Regions from separate parts of the Homo sapiens genome. Here region 1 is linked to region 2. Evidence: promoter capture Hi-C in human tissues and cell types (Jung and others, 2019). All regions are on one chromosome and are shown on one strand. Each heading gives the region's core, a stretch centred on a gene start or on the middle of the fragment in contact. The rest is flanking DNA. Distances are from core to core; before and after follow the strand shown. Region 1 overlaps LOC105378768 (a long non-coding RNA gene). Region 2 holds the start of DOCK7 (dedicator of cytokinesis 7).

Region 1 (5,235 bases), core at 894-3,393, 260 kb after region 2:
TAGGCAGTCTAGATTAGTATGGTGGTTCTGTGACCATCAGGGACCTAATTAATTTCTTCCATTCTCAACATGTGGCTTCTACCTTTCGGTCCTTTATAGCTGTTTAAATTCCAGCCATCATGTCTACAGTCCTATGCAGGAAAGAAAAAAGGACAGAGATGACCATGGTCCCCTCTCTTTAAGGATACTTCCTGGAAGCTGTACACACCATTCCTACTTATAGCCCATTGGCCAGAACTTAGTCATTTGACAACATTATTCTGGGTGGCTATATACCCAACTAAAAATCAGGGGTTATAATATTAAGGAAGAAGGATAGAATGGATATTAGAGGACAAATAGCATTCTCTGCTATGCCTCCCTTACCAGGTTAAAAAAAAATCCCCAGCTGGTGAAGATATCCCCAAAAGATGAAAAATGGAAAAGTACTGTACAGCTTTTGGTTCCTTGAAAAGAGAATATGCTGGGTATCTGTTTGCCCTTGTGGTAGATATGGAGATGAGCTGCCCAGATCCCCCTTCAAGGAGGGACTTGCTCCCAAGCTGCAAAGACTACCTCCAGTTGTCAGTTCCATCAGACTCTGCTTCAATCGCAGACAATGGCCTTGCCCACAGTCATGCTCTCTGCAGCCTAAACTGGGTGATTAAGCAAGGCTGGACTATAAAGGCTCAGCCATTATGGCCACCACTGGACACCTCTGATGGGCAGTATTCACTCCAGAGCTCTTAGCGAGGCTGGCCAAAGCTTTATTGGACCTGTACTGGAATTTGACTTCATTCTCTTACCAGTCCTACTTCCTCTCCCTTCCTTTCACATCTTATGCTCCAGCTTTGTCTCTCTCTGCACCTGCTCCTCAAGAAGGCTGCCTGCAAGAATTAGTACGAGGATTGGTTGGAGAAAGTAGACAACCAGATGAGGTTTGGGAGCTGAATTATAGACTACCTAGCAGGTGGTAGGTGAAGCATAGTCAGCTCCTGGCACAAGGTAATGGTCCAATCAGGATGATGTACCAGGTGGAAGAGAATGCACTTGCAGGTGTGATATATCTGGCAGTTAACATATATGGTGGAAGTTGTAGCTATAAGAATAATAGAATTGGATGGCTATTGCTAAACTCCATTGGTTACAGAAAAATAAAAAACAGCTAAGGGTAGGTAATAAGCAATTGAAGGTCTGGTGTGAAAGCCAGAGCACCTGTTCGTTGCATAAAAAACAGCTCTCATCTGCAGGGGAAGGGTGGAGAAAGCTGAGCATCAAGACTACTTTAGAGTGGTCAAACTTAAAAGATGGTTAAATGCCTAAAATAGGTCTGTTGTGTCAAAGTCAGGGTCATGGTTGAGAAAATCTAGCACCCTGACACATGGAGGGTCCATCTGGGTAGTGATCATGAAAATTTTGATTCCCCAGGCTCCTCTGAAGCCTGCAGTGTGGCCCCTCCTCCCTACTCAGAGCTATCACTTTCCTGTACTAGAAGACATTGCAGAGGCTTCTACTTGAAAGGCATGTTCTCCCTTCCGCCAGCACTCACACCTGTCATCTAGCCTTCTAGCCAGTAGATCTATAATTAGGGTTAAATCATAGCATAACCTAGTTGGGAAGGTGCTGTACCTGATGGGTAGAGGTAAATGACTGTTCCCCAAAGAAGATGTAAGACCTAGACAAGCACGTACCAACAGGAGCTTCAGAAGAGTACATGGGGCTGGATTCAGATGATGCTTAAGCAAGGGGAGCTAGAACATAAAATTGAATGGGAAAGTTATATTGAATTTGGAGTATTCTCCCAAATACAGGATTTAATATTCTGCCAAGGACCCCCAAGAATTGACGTGAACATTCACTAACTACTACAATGGCTCCTAAAAGCATGGGAAAAGAAAACGAAATGCTAGGAGTGCTAGGGCAGGCAGGTGGCTCAAAAAGGGATTAAAAGGTTGACAGAAATGGGTCTGCTGGAGTGGATATATTACGTACGCCTGGAAGGTTATGATCATTATGTTCTGAGGGAAGGCCCAGAGGACACACCATTTACCAAGGCCATTAGGGAATGCACTGGTGCAAAGGACATAAACATCACTAAAAACCTCAGTGGTGGCTCTCTGCAAGCCAGGACTGATGGTAGCAGAGGCCTCCCAGACTTTGACTCACTGATAGCAATGGAGATGATAGACCCCAAAACAATACTGGCCAACTGGCAGTGCTTAATTACTAGAAGCCAGGAGGTCGCAATTATAATGACCTACCAAGGGGACTTGACCCTCAGAGAGTTATAGAAATGGTTACTAGATGGTGGCGTCTTTAGGGGCAAAATAGATAGACAACCAACTAAGCTCTATTATTTTGTACCAGTGGGGAAAAAAAAGTTAAGGATAGATGACCAGGATGCTAAGGATAGTCACCCAATAGTCAATTCCTTAGTTTCCAGACCAGAGCATTTTTAGACCTGGAACCCATTGACTGAAGAGGCCAGGAGGAAGGACTTTGCTATACCTCAACAAGTATAAATGGTAATGGTTTCCTCAGTCCTTCCCCAAAGGGATCTTTAGTCATTTACTTGGGTAATTGTACCCTGGGGAAATGGACATACCCAAACATGCCAAGGATTGTGAGACAGAGGGTATGAATTTAACTTGTTATCCACAGACCACAAGCATCATCGTGGCCTTCTGTTATAATGGGGGCATAAAGAAGCCAGTTAATAAATGGAGTCATGGCAAGGTCCGGCTCAGAGTGAGTTTACTACTGGATCTGTGACCACAACTAATTATCATTTCCCCACTCTTCAAATGTATAATGGAGTTGTCATTTTTGGCAATTGATGCAAATGCATTAGGACTTTTGCCTATGGGGTAAAAGCTATAATGGTGGGGAAGGCCAAGTGAAAGCCTTTGAAACTGCTTCCCAGCTCCAGAGAAACATGGCACAGTCTCTTAGTCAGCTCAGTCTGCTATAACAAAATACTATATACTGGGAAATTTAGACAACAGACATTTACTTCTCATAGTATTGGAGGCTGGAGAGTCCAAGATCAAAGTCCCAGCAGATTCAGTTTCTGGTGAGAGCTCTTTCTAGCCTGCAGACAACCACCTTTTTGCTGTGTCCTCACATGGCCCTTTCTCAGTGTGAGTGTGTAGAGAGGGAATTCTGAATTCTGAATTCTTCCTCTTACTATAAGGATACTAATCCCATGGTGGGGGCTTTACCCTCATGACCTTCTGTGTTCCCTAAAATTCATGTTGAAACCTAATGCCCGGCATGATGGTATTTGGAGGTGAGGTGTTTGGGAGATGATTAAGGAATGATATCAGTTAAAGAGACCCCAGAGAGTGCCCTCACACTTTCCCCAGGCTGAGATGCAACAAGAAGACACCTATCTTTGAACCAGGAAGACTTCACCACATACAGAATCTGTCAGTGCCTCAATCTTAGACTTCCTAGCCTCTAGAACTATTAGAAATAAATTTCTGTTGTTTATAAGCCACACAGTCTATGGTATTCTGTTATAGCAGCCCAAATGGACTAAGATATAATCTAAACCTAGTTATCTCCCAGAGACCCTACCTCCAAATACTATCATACTGCGGGTTAGGGCTTCAACATATGAATTTTGGGGGGACACATAGGAAACACATACAGGAAATCAAACAATATTATATCTCAAGAGAAGATGGCAGGAATTCGTGTCACTCTTAAGATTTTAAAGGAAACAGAGGTGCTGATTCCCATCATATCTCTGTTTAATTCACCATATGGCCCGGCAAAAATAGATGGACTCTGAAGGATGACAGTAGATTACTGCAAGTACAACCCATTAGTAGGCCTGATCGCAGCTGTCATGACAGATGTGGTGTATTTGCTAGAGTTGATTAATACATCCTCAGATATTTGGTATGCACCACTGATTTTAGTGAATGCATTCTTTTCTATTCCAATCGTAAGAAAGGATCAGAAACAGTGGCATTCCATGAAACAGACAAAAGTGCACATTGGCTGGATGTGGTTGCTCATGCCTGTAATCCCAGCATTTTGGGAGGCCAAGGCAGGAGAATTGCTTGAAGCCAGGAGTTCAAGACCAGTGTGGGCAACAGAGTGAGATCCTATCTTTACGTTAAAAAAAAAATTAATTAGCTGGACGTAGTGGTGAGCATCTCCCAGCTACTCAGGAGGCTGAAGTGGTAGGATCGCTTGAGTCCAGGAATTTGAGGCTACAGTCAGCTACAATTGTACCACTGCACTCCAGCCTGGGTGACAAAGCTAGACCCTATTTCTTTTTATTTATTTATTTTTTTGAGACGGAGTCTCACTCTGTCGCCCAGGCTGGAGTGCAGTGGCGCAATCTCGGCTCACTGCAAGCTCCGCCTCCCGGGTTCACACCATTCTTCTGCCTCAGCCTCCCAAGTAGCTGGGACTACAGGTGCCTGCCACCACACCTGGCTAATTTTTTGTATTTTTAGTAGAGATGAGGTTTCACCATGTTAGCCAGGATGGTCTCGATCTCCTGACCTTGTGATCTGCCCGTCTAGGCTGCCCAAAGTCTATTTCTTTTTTATTAAAAAAAAGTACACATTTACGGTTTGGTTCCAGGGCTATATTAACAGTATTCCTGCCCTCTATCATAAAATAGCCTGAAAAGATCTGGACCTTCTGGACATCCTGCATCACATTGATCTACTACATCAATTACGTCCTCTTGATTGTGCAGGATGAGCAAATTATAAGTTTCAGGAGAATTAAAGAACTGAAAGTGTACATGATTGGTGGAGATGCAAAGGAGTGTACAAAAGAAAGCTAAATCCTCATCTTCTGTATTGGGAAATCGACAAAATGGTAACTAAAAAATCAAGAAGAAGAAATATAAACATAGTTGTTTTGTTTTGTTTTGTTTTGTTTTGTTTTGTTTTGTTTAAGACAGGGTCTCTGTCGCCCATCCTGGAGTGCAGTGGTACAATCACGGCTTACTGCAGCCTCAACCTCCGATGCTCAAATGATCCTCCCACCACAGCCTTCTGCATAGCTGGAACTACAGGCCCACTCCACTATACCCGGCTAATTTTTTGGTGTCGTTTTTGTAAAGACAGTGTTTCACTGTGTTGCCCAGGCTGTTCTCGAACTCCTGAGCTTAAGTGATCCACCCACCCCAGCCACCCAAAGTGCTGGGATTATGGGTGTGAGCCACCATGCCTGGCCTAAACATGTTATTTAGACATGTGAAGGTAAATACCAAAGAATCAGTCAAAA
Region 2 (5,443 bases), core at 2-2,501:
CTCAGTGTGTGACTCTGGCAAGTGACCTAATGGCTCCAAGCTACAGATTTTCCAATGGTAAAAGAGAGGAAAACAGGTATCCAACATATTCCACCAGGACATACTGAGAATATAATAATAACAATAAATAAATACACATTTTAAGTTCTTGCAATACTTAAGAGGAAAGGTACTACAAGAAACCAAGATATTTTTCTTAGTGTCACCATAATTTCAGTATCAACAGATATGCATTAGGAGCCAAATATTCTAGACATTATGGGATTACAACAGAACAGATGAAAACAAATCTCTGCTAGTCTCTGTTTTATAGGCTATTATGGACAAGGTCAGTTTCAGTGGTCAACACAGAGCTTATTTAACAGAACATCAAAATGGGGGTGAACGTTAGAGCTCACCTGGATTTTATATATATATATATATATATATATATATATATATATATATATATATATATGTATGTATGAGAGACAGAGAGAGATCCAAAAGGGGTTAATAATACGGAAACAACTGTCCTCAAAGAAAAGAACCGGCTCTGGGTTTGAGTCTCAGTGGAAGAGTTTACCATCTGTGCGACCTGGGGCCAGTCACTTAGCTTTTCCAAGCCAATTTCCTTCCCTCTAAAATAGTGATAGTAACGATCTACTTCAAAGCGCTCGTGCTTGAAAAACTTTAATCCAGTGGCTGGCTAAGCACCAGAAGTCAACTATTACTATTGTTATCGCTGCAGGAGCAAGGTATTTTCTGGCTCTTTCTCTATAAGAAAAACCACTGTTTCTCCAGTTAGGCTGCATTCATGAGGCCGAAGCAGAAACCCAAGTGCTTTAAAAAGCTCGGAGACCGGTGCTGCAGAAACATGAACCCAGTCATCCAGGGCTTTGGTTAAAGCACAGCCCCCTCGGCAAAGCCCACCTTTCATTTCCTTCCCTTCCATTTCGGGAAAGCCAAGCTCCCCCTACGCGTTCGGTTATCTTATTTTCTTGCCTCGCCAGGTCGCTGGCCTGTCTCTGGCTTCTCTCCGCGACCTCTCGGTCGTGCAGGCTCCGCGGCAGCGAAGCGGCTGGGGCTGGCGCCTCGCTTCCTCAGCGCTCCATTCTTCCCCTCGGCTCCCGCCGGCCGCAGCCGCCTTCCGCAGCCGGGGTTCCCGCCGGGATTGACGCGCTGGGGGAGGAGCGGTTTCTCGTTGCGCGCCTCTAAGGAACATTACGGCAGGGCTCGTTCCTGGCTCCGGCCGCCAGCCCCAGCCTCCCAGGTCCGGAGCCCGGACTGGCGGAGGCCGCGAGGGAGGGAGCACGAGCGAGGAGGCACGCGCCCGCCGGTCCGCACCCGGCCCGCCGCAGCCGCCGCCGCCGTCGCCGTCGCCGCAGCAGCCATGGCCGAGCGCCGCGCCTTCGCCCAGAAGATCAGCAGGTAAATATCCGGCGTGGGGCGCGCCGCCGCCGCCGCCCGAGAAAGAGCCGCGGAGTCCTCCCAGGCCTGGCCTAGGAGGCGGGTGGGTGTGGCGGGGCCGGCACCGGGATCCCGCGGCCTGGCTCGCGGCGGGGCGGAAGGGGTTCGGGGTGGCTGAGGGGGTAGCGGAGGCCTCGCGCCGCCCTCGAACCCCGGCCTTCAGCCCGCGCCCGCCGCTGAGCCTCGGCAGGGAGCGGAGAGGGCCGCGGACTCCAGCGCGCCCGCCTCCTCCTGCTCCTCGGCGGCCCGGGCCTGGACTTCTGCGGAGGTTTATGGAAGGGCGGTCGGCCGCTTCCCAAATTCTTTGTGTTCCCACCCCCGGGCTCGTCGGGGGCCGCCGCGGCGTTTCGCCCCCTCCCGTCTCTCCGCCCACCCCTCTTGGCCCCTAGAGGGTGCGGGGTCCGCCCTCCTCCACCCCAACAAAAGGAGAAACGCGCGGCGGCTCGGGGCGGGTGGGAGGCCGCCCCTCCTTCACGCGTCTCTCTCTTCCTGAGAAATCTGACAGGAACCCTCTTTGCACCCTCGGGCCAGGTTCAAAGTGGACTTGTGCGTCCAGGATTGAAAACGTGTGGACAGAATGAAAAGTTGAGAGCTGCGGGCTGCACCTTCGGTGTGCAGCTGCCGAATCCCTGACGGATTGCAGGCTGAAGCTTGTTCTGAGTTCGCCTGTGAATTTAACTGTGCGCCTGTGTTTCTCAGAGCACCCGAGAAGATGGATGATAGGCAGTGTTCTTTATACACTGACATCCTTTTATATGTTAGCAGTCTTGAAGTAAAGCAAGTGATTGCAGTCTTGAAGTAAAGCAAGTGATTGAGGTGGAGGTTTCAAAGCCTTTCACCTACTTGTGGTGGTTGGTTGCCACCTTTCTCCCACCCGCCAAATAAAAATTAAATGACAGAGGACTCTAATATTTGTAGAATTTCTTTGTGGAGTATACTTATGTATGAGACAGTAGACATTTTTGTTTTAATAAAATCATATTTGTGTGAATTATGATGTCCCAAGAAAAGAAGCATTCATATTAAATTACCTTTTTTTGTTTTGGGGCAGTTGTAGTTCTGTGGCTCTGAGTCTTTTTAGTTTGCTGACATTTCTTTAAAAATTTTGGGCCGGATGCAGTGGCTCAGGCCTGTAATCCCAGCAGTTTGGGAGGCCGAGGCAGGAGGATCGCTTGAGGCCAGGAGTTCAAGACCAGCCTGGGCAACATAGCGAGTCCCCCCCACCCCATCTCTGCAAAAAAATTAGCCAGGTGTGGTGTTGCACCTGTCGTCCTAGCTGCTTTCGAGGCAGAGGCTTTTTTTTTTCTTTCTTTCCAGCGTTCTAGCACTTTTTTTTTCCTGAAGGGGCAAAATAGCAAGTGTTTAAGAGCATGGGCTCTACTCTCAGACCCCGACATGGGTTCAAATCCTGATTGGTATTTTCTAGCTTGGGACTTTGGCCAAGTTGTTGGGCCAAATTTCCGTTTCCTCGTCTGGCAAATGAGAATAATAATAGGACCCAGCTCATAGTGTTGTTGTGAACATTAAGTGGCATAATTTGTGTAATGTGCGTAGGATAGTACAGGGCCTATACTACCTGTCATCAAACACTTGTAGTAATTAGTTTCTCCCAGGGAGTTATGATGACAGGAAATTTTTTTTTTTTGTAAAATAATTAGGTCTTACTTCTGATGATGATGTCATTAAAAAATGTTATTACTGGCCGGGCGCGGTGGCTCACGCCTGTAATCCCAGCACTTTGGGAGGCCGAGGCGGGTGGATCATGAGGTCAGGAGATCGAGACCATCCTGGCTAACAAGGTGAAACCCCGTCTCTACTAAAAAAAAAAAATACAAAAAATTAGCCGGGCGCGGTGGCGGGCGCCTGTAGTCCCAGCTACTCGGGAGGCTGAGGCAGGAGAATGGCGTGAACCCGGGAAGCGGAGCTTGCAGTGAGCCGAGATTGCGCCACTGCAGTCCGCAGTCCGGCCTGGGCGACAGAGCGAGACTCCGTCTCAAAAAAAAAAAAAAAAAAAAAAAAAAAAAAAAAAAGTTATTACTTGACATGTATTCCTAGTTTTAATTTCTCTTATTAGAACCAGAAGTTTATCTCTGAAAACATCATGCTGATAAAGTAAGTGCACTTTAGAGAGTTGGATATGAAATTGTATGTCTATTAGTGGAGTTCGCCACCAGATGGGATAGGACAAACCACAAGAGAAAAAGAGAATCAGTTGTGCAAAACAACACAAAATGCAAATAAGAACAGCTTTCTAAGAAGTTATAAAATTAAGATAATGTGAATGAAGAAATGTGCACTTATTGGACAGACAGGAGGTGGATATGGTAGTGATTGGTGATTGGACATGCAAGGTGAGGCGGACTGAGGAGTCTGGGATGACATCCTAAGTTGGGCAACCACGTGGATGATGGTGGCAGTCTTTGGGGTAAGGGAGTACAGGAGGAAAAAGGAGTTTGAGATTGGGAGATGCAAGTGGGATGGAGATGATGATTCAGTTTTGGACATGTTAATTTTGAGGGGCTCATGAATCATTCAGAGAGAAATATCTATTTGGTTTTTGGTGCAGGTTGAAGGTGCAGAAGAGAGATTGGGCTGGAGATCTAGATTTGAGAGTTATCAGCAAGTAGATTGCATTTGGAGCCCGGGGGTGGGTGGGGGTTGATGAGATTGTCCAGTGAGAATGTGCAGACTTAACTTGGAAGGAATACCAAAGACAGAACTGCTATGAGTAATGCATTATTAACTGCTTATTGTGAATGAAAGGTTCTTCCTTGTTATCAAATATGATTGAATAATACTTAATACTTCTGAATCAATTCGTGTTCTGCTTTTTAACTTTTCTATTAGAGGAAGTATAGCACAAATTCTGGAGATGAAGTTCCTGGGTTTGACACCCCAGCACAGCCACTCGTTGAGTAAACATGGCCAAGTTACTTGACCACACTTCTGCCTCGTTTTCCCTATCTAGAAAATGAGGATGATGGTAAGACTTAACCTCGTAGGGTTGTTGTGGGGATTAAATGAATTGTTACCTCTAAAGTGCTTAGAACAGTGCTCTAAGTGCCTAGTAAGTATCAACTGTTTTTTACTACAGTATTTATAATGTGGTTTGAGGCTTTTGTTGGAAATGATAATCCTTTTCCTAGTGTTCGTATATGAAATTTGTTGCTCTGTGAAAAGCCTGTTGCTGTTTGAAACCTTATTTCTTTTCAAAGCTTTGTGATTGTTCAGAAACCTATACTTTAAAAAGAATTATAATGATCTTGTTTCTGTCGCAGTTATTTTTTAGCCCCTTGCATTTAGTGCAGTTATTTTTTGAGGCTGTGATTTGGTGATTTCTGAAGGCTCTTTATTCTTATTATCACTAATTATACTGTTTACTTCAGCTCACCATAGAAAAGCAGCATGTATATCTTGTCCATATCAAGTAGTTGTCTTTGTACATGTGTGTCCCCTTTGCTTTTTGAGGATAAGGCCCATGGATTTATGGAATGTAGACTGTAGACAAATTGTCTAGGATTTTGTTGGGATTATTTTGTCCTGTTGCTTGATACTCAGCAGTAATGATGAACATTTGTGTACACTTAAAGCACTTTTTACTGCATTCTCATCTTCATAACCCAGAGAGGCAGAAAATGTACTAAAGAATATAGGATCTGGGATCAGATTGCACAGGTTGAAATTCTGCATATACCACAGAAAAATGGGGATAACAGCCTCAATAAAGTTAATGTGAGGATTAAATGAGTTAATACATGTGTAAGTGAGCTAATACAGTTCTAATAATGCATTAGTAGTACTGTGTCAGGAACATAAGCATTCAAAAATGTTAGCCACTGCTATTATGATTTCCATATTACTTACTGTTGTTATCATTTTCTAGATGAGGAATTGAGGCCTAAAAACAGCAACTGTATTTGCCTAAATTGGGACTCAAATCCTAGTTCTCTGATTTCAGATTTTTTTTTTTTTTTTAAGATGGAGTTTTGCTCTT

Evidence for each region. Contacts are between HindIII fragments. The study calls those that stand out against the background at their distance.
Region 1: a contact is called between a fragment that was not itself captured here and the fragment with the promoter of DOCK7 in region 2, in 1 of the 25 tissues and cell types used here (IMR-90 fibroblasts).

Annotation. Positions count from the first base shown.
Region 1 is chr1:62,427,140-62,432,374 of GRCh38, reverse strand. LOC105378768 (a long non-coding RNA gene) reads right to left here. Exons shown (of 3, transcript XR_007066146.1): 2 at 1,671-1,730; 3 at 785-866. Among named protein-coding and RNA genes, the nearest start is that of USP1, 7.3 kb to the left of the region's middle. The HindIII fragment of the contact is 6,748 bases long and covers 1-5,235 here.
Region 2 is chr1:62,684,194-62,689,636 of GRCh38, reverse strand. DOCK7 (dedicator of cytokinesis 7) reads left to right here and starts at 1,251. Exons shown (of 50, transcript NM_001367561.1): 1 at 1,251-1,410. The coding sequence starts at 1,373. DOCK7-DT (DOCK7 divergent transcript) reads right to left here and starts at 1,155. Exons shown (of 2, transcript NR_185999.1): 1 at 985-1,155. RefSeq lists an enhancer at 1-139 and a silencer at 1,149-1,898. The HindIII fragment of the contact is 7,491 bases long and covers 1-3,382 here.